Linked DNA regions of Homo sapiens: all the other regions are linked to region 1. Evidence: promoter capture Hi-C in human tissues and cell types (Jung and others, 2019). All regions are on one chromosome and are shown on one strand. Each heading gives the region's core, a stretch centred on a gene start or on the middle of the fragment in contact. The rest is flanking DNA. Distances are from core to core; before and after follow the strand shown.

The links. Contacts are between HindIII fragments. The study calls those that stand out against the background at their distance.
Region 2: a contact is called between a fragment that was not itself captured here and the fragment with the promoter of FOXL1 in region 1, in 1 of the 25 tissues and cell types used here (lymphoblastoid cells).
Region 3: a contact is called between a fragment that was not itself captured here and the fragment with the promoter of FOXL1 in region 1, in 2 of the 25 tissues and cell types used here (IMR-90 fibroblasts and aorta).
Region 4: a contact is called between a fragment that was not itself captured here and the fragment with the promoter of FOXL1 in region 1, in 2 of the 25 tissues and cell types used here (IMR-90 fibroblasts and lymphoblastoid cells).

What each region holds. Positions count from the first base shown.
Region 1 is chr16:86,577,120-86,579,819 of GRCh38, reverse strand. FOXL1 (forkhead box L1) reads right to left here and starts at 1,271. Exons shown (of 1, transcript NM_005250.3): 1 at 1-1,271. The coding sequence starts at 1,096. The coding sequence ends at 59. RefSeq lists an enhancer at 1-411. The HindIII fragment of the contact is 9,412 bases long and covers 1-2,700 here.
Region 2 is chr16:86,910,641-86,913,340 of GRCh38, reverse strand. No RefSeq gene overlaps it. Among named protein-coding and RNA genes, the nearest start is that of LINC02181, 150 kb to the left of the region's middle. RefSeq lists an enhancer at 772-2,700. The HindIII fragment of the contact is 9,380 bases long and covers 1-2,700 here.
Region 3 is chr16:86,968,965-86,971,664 of GRCh38, reverse strand. No RefSeq gene overlaps it. Among named protein-coding and RNA genes, the nearest start is that of LINC02181, 87 kb to the left of the region's middle. RefSeq lists an enhancer at 2,136-2,636. The HindIII fragment of the contact is 4,579 bases long and covers 1-2,700 here.
Region 4 is chr16:86,992,646-86,995,345 of GRCh38, reverse strand. No RefSeq gene overlaps it. Among named protein-coding and RNA genes, the nearest start is that of LINC02181, 64 kb to the left of the region's middle. The HindIII fragment of the contact is 6,483 bases long and covers 1-2,700 here.

The DNA of each region.
Region 1 (2,700 bases), core at 22-2,521:
CCTTTCGCTCAGCGGAGGCTCAGGCTGGGCCGGGAGAAGAACCGTGCCATTGTTTGCTTTACTGGAAGTGGAGTACCGTGTCGGGAACCTGCAGGGGGAAATAAGAGAGGAAGGGGATCCCGAGCTGGTAAAAGCCGCCCTGGACATGCGGGTCGAGCATCAGGGAAGCGTTGAAAGGCGGACGGAGGCTGGAGGAGGCGGCCAGGAGCGAGGCACCCAGACGGCCGCCGGGCCCAGGCTTGGCACCCCCTAGGAGTTCGTCCCCTGAAGGCGGCTTCTGGCCCTGCTTTCCCGCCAGGATGCTGTCTATGCTGAAGCTCTTGGACTTGTCGGAGCTCTTCGGAGAGCTGCGGGAGGCGGGGCGCAGAGGGGACCCCGGGCCGTCCCCTGTGCGCGCTGCCTGGCCGACCGCCACGGCCGCTGCGCCCTGGGCAGCGTCACCAGCGTCCTCGTTCGGGGACGCGGTCCCCGGCCAGTGGAGGGGCGCCGGCGGAGAGGGGCCGTCCAGGAGGGGCGAGGGGCCCGCGGGCGCTGCCTGCAGGCGGGAGATTGCGGGGCCCGAGCCCCCTGCCCCGCTCCCCGCCTCCGGCTGCGCCTCCGCGCTGCGCTGGTGCGTCTCGGCGCGGGGCCTCTTGGCCTCCGGGGCCCCGGGGCCCGGCTTGGGCTTCCTCTTCCGGCGCCGGTAGTTGCCGTTCTCAAACATGTCCAGGCAGCGGGGGTCCAGCGTCCAGTAGCTGCCCTTGCCCGGCCGCCCTTTCTCGCGGGGCACCTTGACGAAGCAGTCGTTGAGCGAGAGGTTGTGGCGGATGCTGTTCTGCCAGCCCTGCCGGTTGTCGTGGTAGAAGGGGAAGCGGTCCATGATGAACTGGTAGATGCCGTTGAGCGTGACCCTCTGCTCGGGCGCGTCCTGGATCGCCATGGCGATGAGCGCGATGTAGCTGTAGGGAGGCTTCTGCGGGGTCTCGGCCCGGCCCGAGGCAGCTAGAGCAGCCGCGGGGGCGAAGGCCAGAGGGAGGCCGGGTCTCTCGGGACCGTACAGATACAGCATGGGCGAGGCGGCCAGGGCAGGCAGCCGGGGATCGAAGAGGTGACTCATGGCAAGCGAGAGCCTGCGCTGCGCTCCCCGCAACGCAGGAGACCCGGGCGGCCTAGGCACTGCGCCCCGCGCCGCAAGGGCCCTCCCGGGGAGCCAGCCGTGCCTCTGCCTCTGGCTCTGCCGCTCTCCCCGGCCGCTCCGTGCTCTGTCCCTTCTTCATGGCTTTAAAAATGTTAAATAATTGTTGTAAGTTTGCTGTTATATGTTGACTTAGCCCTGGAAAATAAATTGTCTATGATAAACAGTCCTTGTGTTCTCAGCCCACCCACATTAATTAAAATTTCATTGCTGAAAAACTCCAAGCTTTTCCCTCCACGTGTCTTTTTGATACCAGCCAATCGGTTTTGGGGCTATTCCTTCATTTGTTTATAGAATTAGTCTGTTGATAAGTCCGCCCACCCAAGTTGAATCAAGCTGTGTTTATTTGGAAAAATTTCCGGGCACCCAATATATAAACGCACTGATCTGATGTTTGAAATATCACGTCCACCCCTTGACGCTGTAAGCACACACAGTCAGTGAGGCAGGATGTAGACTGCGGTGGCTCAGAGCAGGGTCTGCTGAGCCAGGAAGGAGAGGTGGAGATGGGGGTGGGTGTGCAGGGATGAGTTTTACGCTGGCCTGGGGGAGCCCCATAACGCCAGGGCCTCCCACAAAAGGTCTTTTCTTCTCCCAGGCTTAACCGGAGATATCGAGATGCCACAGTCTAGTAAAACACTTTCTGAGGTCCTAGGAACCTTTTAGATTGGGGCAGGGAGAGTATCTAAGAAGCCTGAGTGTCTGCTGAGAAGGGGATGCGGCCCTCCCTGGAAAAACAGGTGGCAGACCCAGTAGGAGGTGGCACTCTCTAGGGACCTGCTCTCCCACACCCTCCCTTCCAGGGCTCTCCGGAAATCGGAGGGAAAGTGGACTCTGGGAGCCCAGTCTCTCTGGAAGGGAAGGCCTAAGGCACTGGGGGCCTGGGGAAGAGCTCATGGTCCACAGCTCCATTGAGGAAGGTTTCAAAATAAACCCATTTAGAGAACCGGGGGCAAAAGTAAGGTCCTCCTGATGGGGCCAAGGTTGCAAGAGAGGAACACCATAAAAGGAGGCCGTGGCAGCTGGCGCGGGAGGCCTGGTATTTGTGAATGTGGGTCTCCAGCTTTATATTCTGGGCTTTCCTGTTTATAACAAGGAGGGGGTTATAACAACTTTACAAGTGCATGCAGCTGGCCCGTGATTACATTAGGCATTTGGGAAGCCTGCTTGCTCTCCCTGTATCCACCCACCCTGGGGTGTACGCGGCCCTCCACCCCCATCTCATTTTACATTTTCCCACATCACTGTTTGAATAAAAAATCCTGAATCATGCTGATTTCGAAGGGGGCCTCTCCTCCCCACTCCACCGGTTAGGGTAAGGGTAGAGGCACCTAGTGTGACTACTTCCTGTTTATGACCACCCCCTGAATATTAAAACACACACACACTGTCACACACACACCCACACACACACACACACATTCGGATAACTGGCGTCTCATTGAGCAAATCGTGTGAGCATGTCAAAGAGATGAGGGAAGGGGGAGGATGGCAGGTGGGTGTAGAAATGGCCCACTGCCAGTGGG
Region 2 (2,700 bases), core at 148-2,647, 330 kb before region 1:
AACCTAAGTTGGGAGACTCCAGAGTCACCTTTAGGCTGCTGTTGGTTCACGAGGGCATCTCTACCCTCATATACTATTTTCAAGGTACACGTCAATGTGTGTGCGTGTGTGTGGGTGTCTCTTTCTCTCCTTCCATCCCCTCTCTCTGTGTGTTGTGGGGCGGGGATTTGAGGTTTTATATACTTGCACCAATTGCAAAAAGTTTGAACTACCAATTTCATTGGCAGTGTTACCACCCGTGGTGTAAGTAGGCAAAGCAATTGTTCCATGGTCCTTGTTTTTCCTAAATACTCAAATCTACCATTAGATCTCTGACCATGTCAGTGTATATTTAGGCAGAGGGGAAAAAAAGGAACTTCCTACTGGCATGGGGCAGGTCTGTGGAGGCAGCCACGGGATGGCGCGGCCATGGCATTCACACTGCCCTTGTCACATATGGGGGCAGTGAGAGCCTTTGGAAAGGTCCTGAGCTTGTCGTTTCTCAGAAGTAACTCTTCCTGGCTAGCTCTCTCAGGCGTCCTTTGTAACATAACAAAACAAAATATGGCCATGAAGGAGGGCAGGTTGTGGGTTGATTATTGGCCAAACTTGGAATGATCCATCTTTCTTAATGGTTCAGAGCAAGTCAGATGAGAAATGGGAAGCTATGAAGTGTGGGGGAAGCAAATAAAGTAATAATGAGAAGATCACCTTTACTCTGTCTTTCAAAAGAAGTGTCAATTTATTTCAAAAGTAACATCAGTTCCCTTTGTACTAGATGTGTCAGCAGTACCTGTGAAACCTGCTGTGAGTAGACAGTACCGCTTGTAGAAGGCACGCACAGATGTCGGCTTGTGGATGGACATCATGTTAGTGAATGGACATTGTTTGAAAAGGTTGGAATCCATATGCATAATTCAGGGAATGTTTTAGACAAAGTTGGTTGTGCCTCGGGCGTACTTCTGCCTGAATTATGGTAACAATAAAATTAAATTTATTAATATGCATGACTCTGTTCAATGGAATGATAAAGCCCTTGAAAGCAATAACTATGGCTTAATCAGCTGTGTATCCCCAGTGACTGGCACCTGGTAGATGCTTAACAAATATTTATTGAAAAATTTAATAAGTGAGTGAGTGTGAGTGACTGAGTGTGCTCTTGGGAAAGCCAGCAGTTTCAAGATTTGGAAAATGAGGATAGTGAGGGCATTGCCTCATGGGGTTATTGTGAGAGCTGGGTGAGATTGTGCTTGTGCACCGTTTGAGGGGCAGGGTGATGATGATGGTGATGATGATGATGATGACAATGATACTGGAGAAAGAGAGTGGGAGGGAGAGAAACTGAGGCCAAAGAATTCACTTTGTTAATGTTCACTAATGAATCAATGTTAAGGTTGGAATTCAGATTCCAGCCCTAATTCTGGAGCTGTTTCTCTAGAAGCCTAAGACAAATGAGGGGCCACCGGCCTCCACAGTGGAACTCCATGTGAACTCACCCCAGTGGGCTGGGGTCAAACTCTGGGCAGTGGATTGGCTCATTAAACAAATGACCTAATTTAGTGCTTAAGACATCCAAAATTTACTAGGCTAATTTGTCAAGTCATCCAGAACAACCAAACCACAAATGGTAAGCCTCGTAGGTTTTAGTGGAATCATAGACGACATTCAGATCACCACTCAGTGAAAGGTTAAGTTAAAGTAGAAGCGACAATTTAGTCTTCAGAGCACTGCAGAGACTTTTATGGGCTGGTGTAAATCTCTTGGCCAACTCTTTCATCTTGTCCTTTCCATTTTTAGCACCTCTCAAGGAGAATGGTTTATGGAACTTGGGAGCAGGAAGCAGGAAGTAGGAAACAGGAAGTAGAAAGGTTCTCCTTTGGATGTGGTCACTGATAAGCACATGAAGTTACCCTTGGAGGGTAACAGTGACAGGGATTGTTCTATTTGCTGGCTCTCAATGGGGACTGAATGAACGAAGGGCATTTGTCGATGGGAACAAGATCCTTTAGCATGAAAAGGCTAGCTACAGAAACATAAAGAGGTGGAGGAAAGTGTGGTCACTATAGAAAGCTGTTACTTTCATTCACTCCTGGAATCAACACCTCTATAATTGCACCTCCTTCTGTAACTAAAGTGATGTTTGTCATTTTGCTGCAGAGGAAGGAGCCCTCACAGAGCTTGTGCATTTTGCTGGTTCAGGAAAGACAATGCAAGCAGTTATCCAAGGCCTTGTTCCTGGGGCTCTGTTATACCTCCCATCATCTGGACAGCTGTCTGTTTACATGGCGAGGGCTGCAAAGCTTCCAACTTAAAGATCCATCTGGTTCTTACATCAACCTAACCCGTAACCTTAAGGAGCAAGCCCAAACACGCCAGGGACATTTGAAAATTTAGGAACGAGCGTGTTTATATTGTATTTGCATTAATGCTTCCTAGAGTTTATTTTCAAAGTGAAGAAAGAACAATGCATAGTAGGCTATTAAACCCAAACATAATCAGTTTAAAGTTAGGGGCATGCTCCTAAGAATATTTTTCTCCTGTTTTGAAGGGTCCACTTGAGAAGGGAGTGGGGAGAAGGGGGTGCAGCGAGGAACCCAGGGCAGGGGAGGGGGTGGAGGGACTGTTCTGAATTCTCCTCAGGGTTTGGCCGGCCCCTGCGGGCCACTGCTGTTTGTCATATGGAATGGATTAGGCCTTCGCTCTCACACTGTCGACTTGGGT
Region 3 (2,700 bases), core at 52-2,551, 390 kb before region 1:
GCAGAAGCAGGACCTGGCATGCAGCAGAGCTCCATGGCCCCTGAGCTCTTCCTGGCTCCCTGCTGTCTTTAGAGGCAGATGTTGCACCAGATGTTCCTGCCTCAGCAGCTTGGGTTTGGCCACATCATGCTGCCTGCTCAGTGGATGGGCCAAACCCCTCCAGTGAGGGCACAGGCTCAGGACCCGCTCTGGGCCTCTCCTCTCAGCCCACTTCCTGCTTCCTGCTTCCGCTAAGCTTCCAAAGGCCTTTTGTCCTCAGTCCAAATGGCCCAGAGGCTGCCAAACAGCTGGGACATGGCTGTGGAAGACCAGAGCCAGAATGAAGTTCATAGTGACGATCACATTTGCCACGCACTTCTCCCGTGCTAAGCATAATGGCAGTTAACCCTGACCGCATTCACGGGGGTAAATGCGATGATTCTTTCCTTCTGCAGATGAGCAAATGTAGCTCCTAGGAGTTAAACACCTCCCCAAAGCTCACGCTCTTGTCTGCAGCAGATGTTGCGTCCCAGCCCAGGCAGGGGGAACTTGGAAGCACTTGCTTAGCCACAGGGCCACCTTGCTTCTGCTCCTTGATGGAGACGAAGACTGTAGACTTGGGTCTGTGACTGTCAAATGGGATTCGGGGCCCAGACCTCAGAGACTTTGCCCCTGGGTGAAGGTGGTGAGTCTGTGTGGAGTGTGGAATCCTCAGCAGAGCCATATGGTGCTGGGAAGAGATGCATGGCAGGAGGAGGCAGTGTGGTCTCATCCGTCTGGATGGAATGATTCCAGAGTCATGCTTGCTCTCCTCCTGGCCAGCACTAGCCCCAGGGGAAGTGAGCCCTGGCATAGGCTCAGTGTCTAGGCCAGGCAGACGGGGCTTCTGTGGGAGATGGGAAGGTGGATGCCAGGAGACCTGCAATTGAGTAAAATCTTTCCTATTTGCCTAAAGAGACCCTCTCTGGGCAAGCCCCCCCAGGCCTTGGGTCAGTCAGATACCACTTCCTTCCACTATCTCTGCTTCTGAGGAATGCCGGATTTGATGTGTTTGGAGGAAGGACTTGTGATACAGACATTGCAGGTAGAGGCAGCCCCTGCCGCAGCTTCACTCAGCAGTGTTGAAACTTCCCCTTTCTTGGAAGTAGGTGGCAGCCCTTGGGGGAGGCCCTGCAGGTGGTTGTGTCAGTGTCCTGGGGCTGTGGTAGCCAATGACCACAAAACGAGAGGCTCAAAACAAACACATTTATTCTCTCACACTTCTGGAGACCGCAAGTCTGAAATCAAGCTGTGCACGGGGCTGCACTCCCTCCAGAGGCTCTAGGGGAAGCTCCTTCCTACCTTTTCCAGTTCTTAGTGGCTCTCGGCATTCCTTGGCTTGTGGCTGCATCAATCCCATCTCTGCCTCCATCATCATCACGTGCCTGTCTCCTCTGTGTGTCTGTGACAGTTTCTACTTCTGTAATAACGATGTGCAACTGGATTTAGGGCCCACCCTAATCCAGTATGATCTCATCTCAAGATCCTTAACCTAATTACATCTTCCAAGATCCTGTTTCCAAATGAGGTCCCATGCAGATTCCAGGGCTTGAACATATCTTTTGGGGGCACCATTCAACCCACTGCAATTGTCTTGGCCAAGCTTTGAGGGAGGGTGGTGCTGAGGGCCTGCCGAAGGCCCAGAGGCCTTGTCCTGCCATGTGGCTCTGGACGAGCTGCAGGCCTTCATGCAGGCTGGAGGCCAGGCTCAGGGCAGCCACCTGGATGTACATCCTCATCACCTAGAAGTCATTGGGAAATACAAATGCCTGGACCCCACCACTCCAGAGCTCCTAAGCCAGGATGCCTTGGAGCTAGGGGTGGGGTGGGGTTGGATCAGGCGTCAGTCAGAGTATGGGTCCTCCAGGTGATGCCACAGCATCCAGGCTTGGGGTGGACACTGGAAAACCCCTTCTCTCAGGCTCTTTTCCAGCTTGGACATTCTAGAATTCTGTGACATGAGGTTGTAGGGTAGACAGAGGTTGTATGTCCCAAGTCTGAAGTCACAGGCTGAGCCAGGACCATGCAGTGTCCTCAGTGCGAAATCTTTGTGGAGGTGCTCGAGTTTCAGTAGGACACGCACATGTCACCCACCCACCATCAAGGGATATTCAATGGGGCTGATCCTTTACGTAGAAGACTCAAAGTTTGCTTTGATTGTCATCAAGTTGGGGTGGACCCCATTGAAAAGATGTTAGATTTCTTAAAACTAGGTAAACAGACCCTGCCAATTCTTTCTGATGTTTTGGCTGAGAGTCTTTGTAGCTTAAAAGAGAAGAAACTAAGGGCTGCTGGAGGATGAAACATGTTTTGCCCCTGTAATAAATGACCTCACATACACTGATGGTGAAAAAATTCTTCGTTTCTCTGCAAAATTTGGAATGTATTTGTGATGACCATCTGGATGCTACACTATTTATGTCATTAGGTATTTGACCACCTGCCCTGAGGAAAGGAGCCCCTGGAATGCGAGGCTGTCTCAGAGAACCTGGGAGCCTGCCCTGTGCTCCAGGGCCAGGCGCCGCTGTGTGGCAGGGCCCCTGGGGCTTGGGAGGAGCTCCACCGGCAAGCCCTGCCCTGACATCTGTTTTAGCTCTCCCACGCAAGTGTCTTTCCTGAGCCTGCCCTCGTGACGGATCGGACCTCGCGTCTGCCCGTCAGTCACCAGACGGCGACTTCACA
Region 4 (2,700 bases), core at 78-2,577, 420 kb before region 1:
TTCAAAGGACTGGCTCTCTCAGACGCTGGGCTCTCACGGGGGCTCCTCTCCAAACCCCGCTGTACAAATATTGTCATCTTGCTCTTGCCTGGAGCCCTTGCCTCTGGCTTTATTATTTTTTTTCTCCTTTTTACCCTTTGACAGTGCAGTAGGGCACTTTGTGAGAAATCTTCCTGTAGAAGGACTGACTTATCACTCCACTTGGGAGTGAAACGACCTCTGGTGATCCCTACCTGGGCTCGTGGGGCTGCAGGGAGGAGCAGCCCAGGGCACTGGTCCAGCGTCCAGCGTGACTGCTTAGAGCTCACAGCCTGCACCGCGGGAGGCACCTCCCTCATCTACACAGTCCCGGTGGGGAGGATGATGAAGCCATTGTTGGAGCATGTCTGCTGGGGCGGAGCAGCAGGCTGGACCCTGTCAGCGGGGTCATTATCTGCCCACTGGCTCGAGTGACAATGAGTTATCATCATCGGCTGTTCTGTGGGAGACACATCAGGCCATTTCTTGCAGATTCTTGGGAGTGGGACATGATTTGTCCAGATTGGATGTCTACAAGTGCCTGGAAGATGAGATAATCTCCAGCTCTCTGCACACAGACTGAGCTTCTCCTGGCCAATGACTCAGCTGTGGTCTGGACTGGGGGGTAAATGTTTCCTGGTTTTGACAATGCGTTTAAGTTACAGGCTTAACTTCCAGGCTGGGTAAACGAGCCTTTAAAGAACTCCCAGGGATCCAATATTTAACCAGAAATTAACTAGCATTTCCAGAACACCCCCTGGCCACAAGGCTTTTTACAGAGATAGGAGATAATACTTAATAATAGTGTTCCCTATTTGTATTTGATTTGGATAAAGGGTCCTGTGTTCTGAATTGTCCACTTCCTCCAGGAAGCCTTCTTGGAGTATACCAACCTCCGAGTCAACTCTTCTCTCCCTCTTGCTCAACATCCAACAGTTGCCCAATCCTGTTGGTTCTTTCTCCATCACTCATTTTGGGTGGGTGGGAAGTTGCGTGTTTCAGAGGTAAAACCACACTTCTCTGAGCCTTAGTTTCCAAATTTGTAAAATCAAAGAAGTGATAAAAGTCTTTGCAGGGAGGCTTAGTAGATTAAGATGAAGCCGAATTGTGGGGTAGATTCTGGCCCCGTGGGAGCTCGGCAAGGCGTGGTTTCTGCCGTCCGCTGCTCTGCTGCCACTTCTCTGTGGAGCGGTGTTCATCTGGACACTTAGGTTTCCTTCCTGGGTCTAGACGAGCTTTCATGATCGTCTTTTGTCCCACACGTGGCTTTCGTTCCCCCACCATCCTTCTAATCCACCCCTGCTCTTATCTTGGGCTCCCCAAAGGCAGCCGGCAACTTGCCCGTGGAGCAGTGGTGGGTTCCTTGGGAGGTTGTCCAGGGCGCATGGGTTCAGTGGCAAGTCAGGAGGAGCAGGCTGTGCGATTGACGTCGCTGCTGGGGCACGGGGTGCAGTCCCACCGTGACCTCCTAAGACGTGCACAGAACACCTCCTAGAATTGTCTGCCCAAAAGGAGTACTTATCTATGGATCTCGTCCCTTCATGGGTCAAGCGCTGACTCCCCACTTCCCTGCGGTGATGTGGAAGGCCCGAGGGGCTTCCTCAGCCTCACGGCACTGGAGAAGTTCTGGGAAGGACTGGAGACCAGCGGCCTGTGCTTGTGGCACAATGAGCCAGCACGGAGGGGCTGGAGCCTGCATGGACTGGTCCGCCTGGCTGCGGCGAGGCCAGCTGAGGTGGGTGGTGGGGGGTAGGGGGTGGATGTGAGCTGGCAGCGGCTGTCCTGTCTGTCTCCTTGCTGCTGATGAATCTCCCCGCCTCACAGGCCTGTCTCCTGCCATCTTCCCGCTTATAAATCCTTCTGCTCATCAATGTTTCCCCAAGTATGTCAAAAAAGAGCTCCTGCTCCAACAGGGCTGAGAAATGCTGCATTAAGCAAATCTAGTTGGATTCCTTACTGCAGGACTTCTCAGAGGCTTGACTCTGTTAACATCATATTAAGAAGGAAGTGGGGGGTGTAGCTTTTTCTAAATGTCTTCATGATGAAGCTCTTACCTTCTAGGTGTGTATTACGAGACTCAGGTTTCCTGGAGAAACGCTAGTATGTAGAAATGCATCCAAACTCCTTTATCTGAAATGTGAGGCCCTTCATGATCTTGGGGCCAGTGGTGTTTTCTAGCCTTATTTTCTCCCATTTCTCTTCCCACATCCTCAACTCTGACAAACTCATCACGCCCCTTAATTTCTGGCCTCTGGATCTTTGCTCATGCTGTTCCTTCCAGCTGGAATGACATTCACTCTCCTGGGTCATGCTCTCTTTCAAGTCTTTGCTCGATTGGTGCAACTTCTCCAGGGCTGGCTCTGAAATCGGGCAAGCCCTGAGGCCCACCACCCAGCCTCTGTTACAGTTTTTTACACATAGATCTCATCTGCCCTACTAAACCATGAGCTCTGCAAGGGAAGAGTCATGTGTGATTCACCACTTAGCCAAGTCTTTCTGTAGCAGTGAGGCTCTGCTATGCTATGCCGCCCTAACAAACAGCCCCCAAATCGCAGTAGGTAACACAACAGAAATCCAACTCTCACTCATGCCAAGCCCACTGCAGTTTCAGGCAGCCCACCAGGGCAACTGTCCTCGGCATGGTGACTCAGTGGTCCAGGCTGATTCCCTCTCATTGCTCTG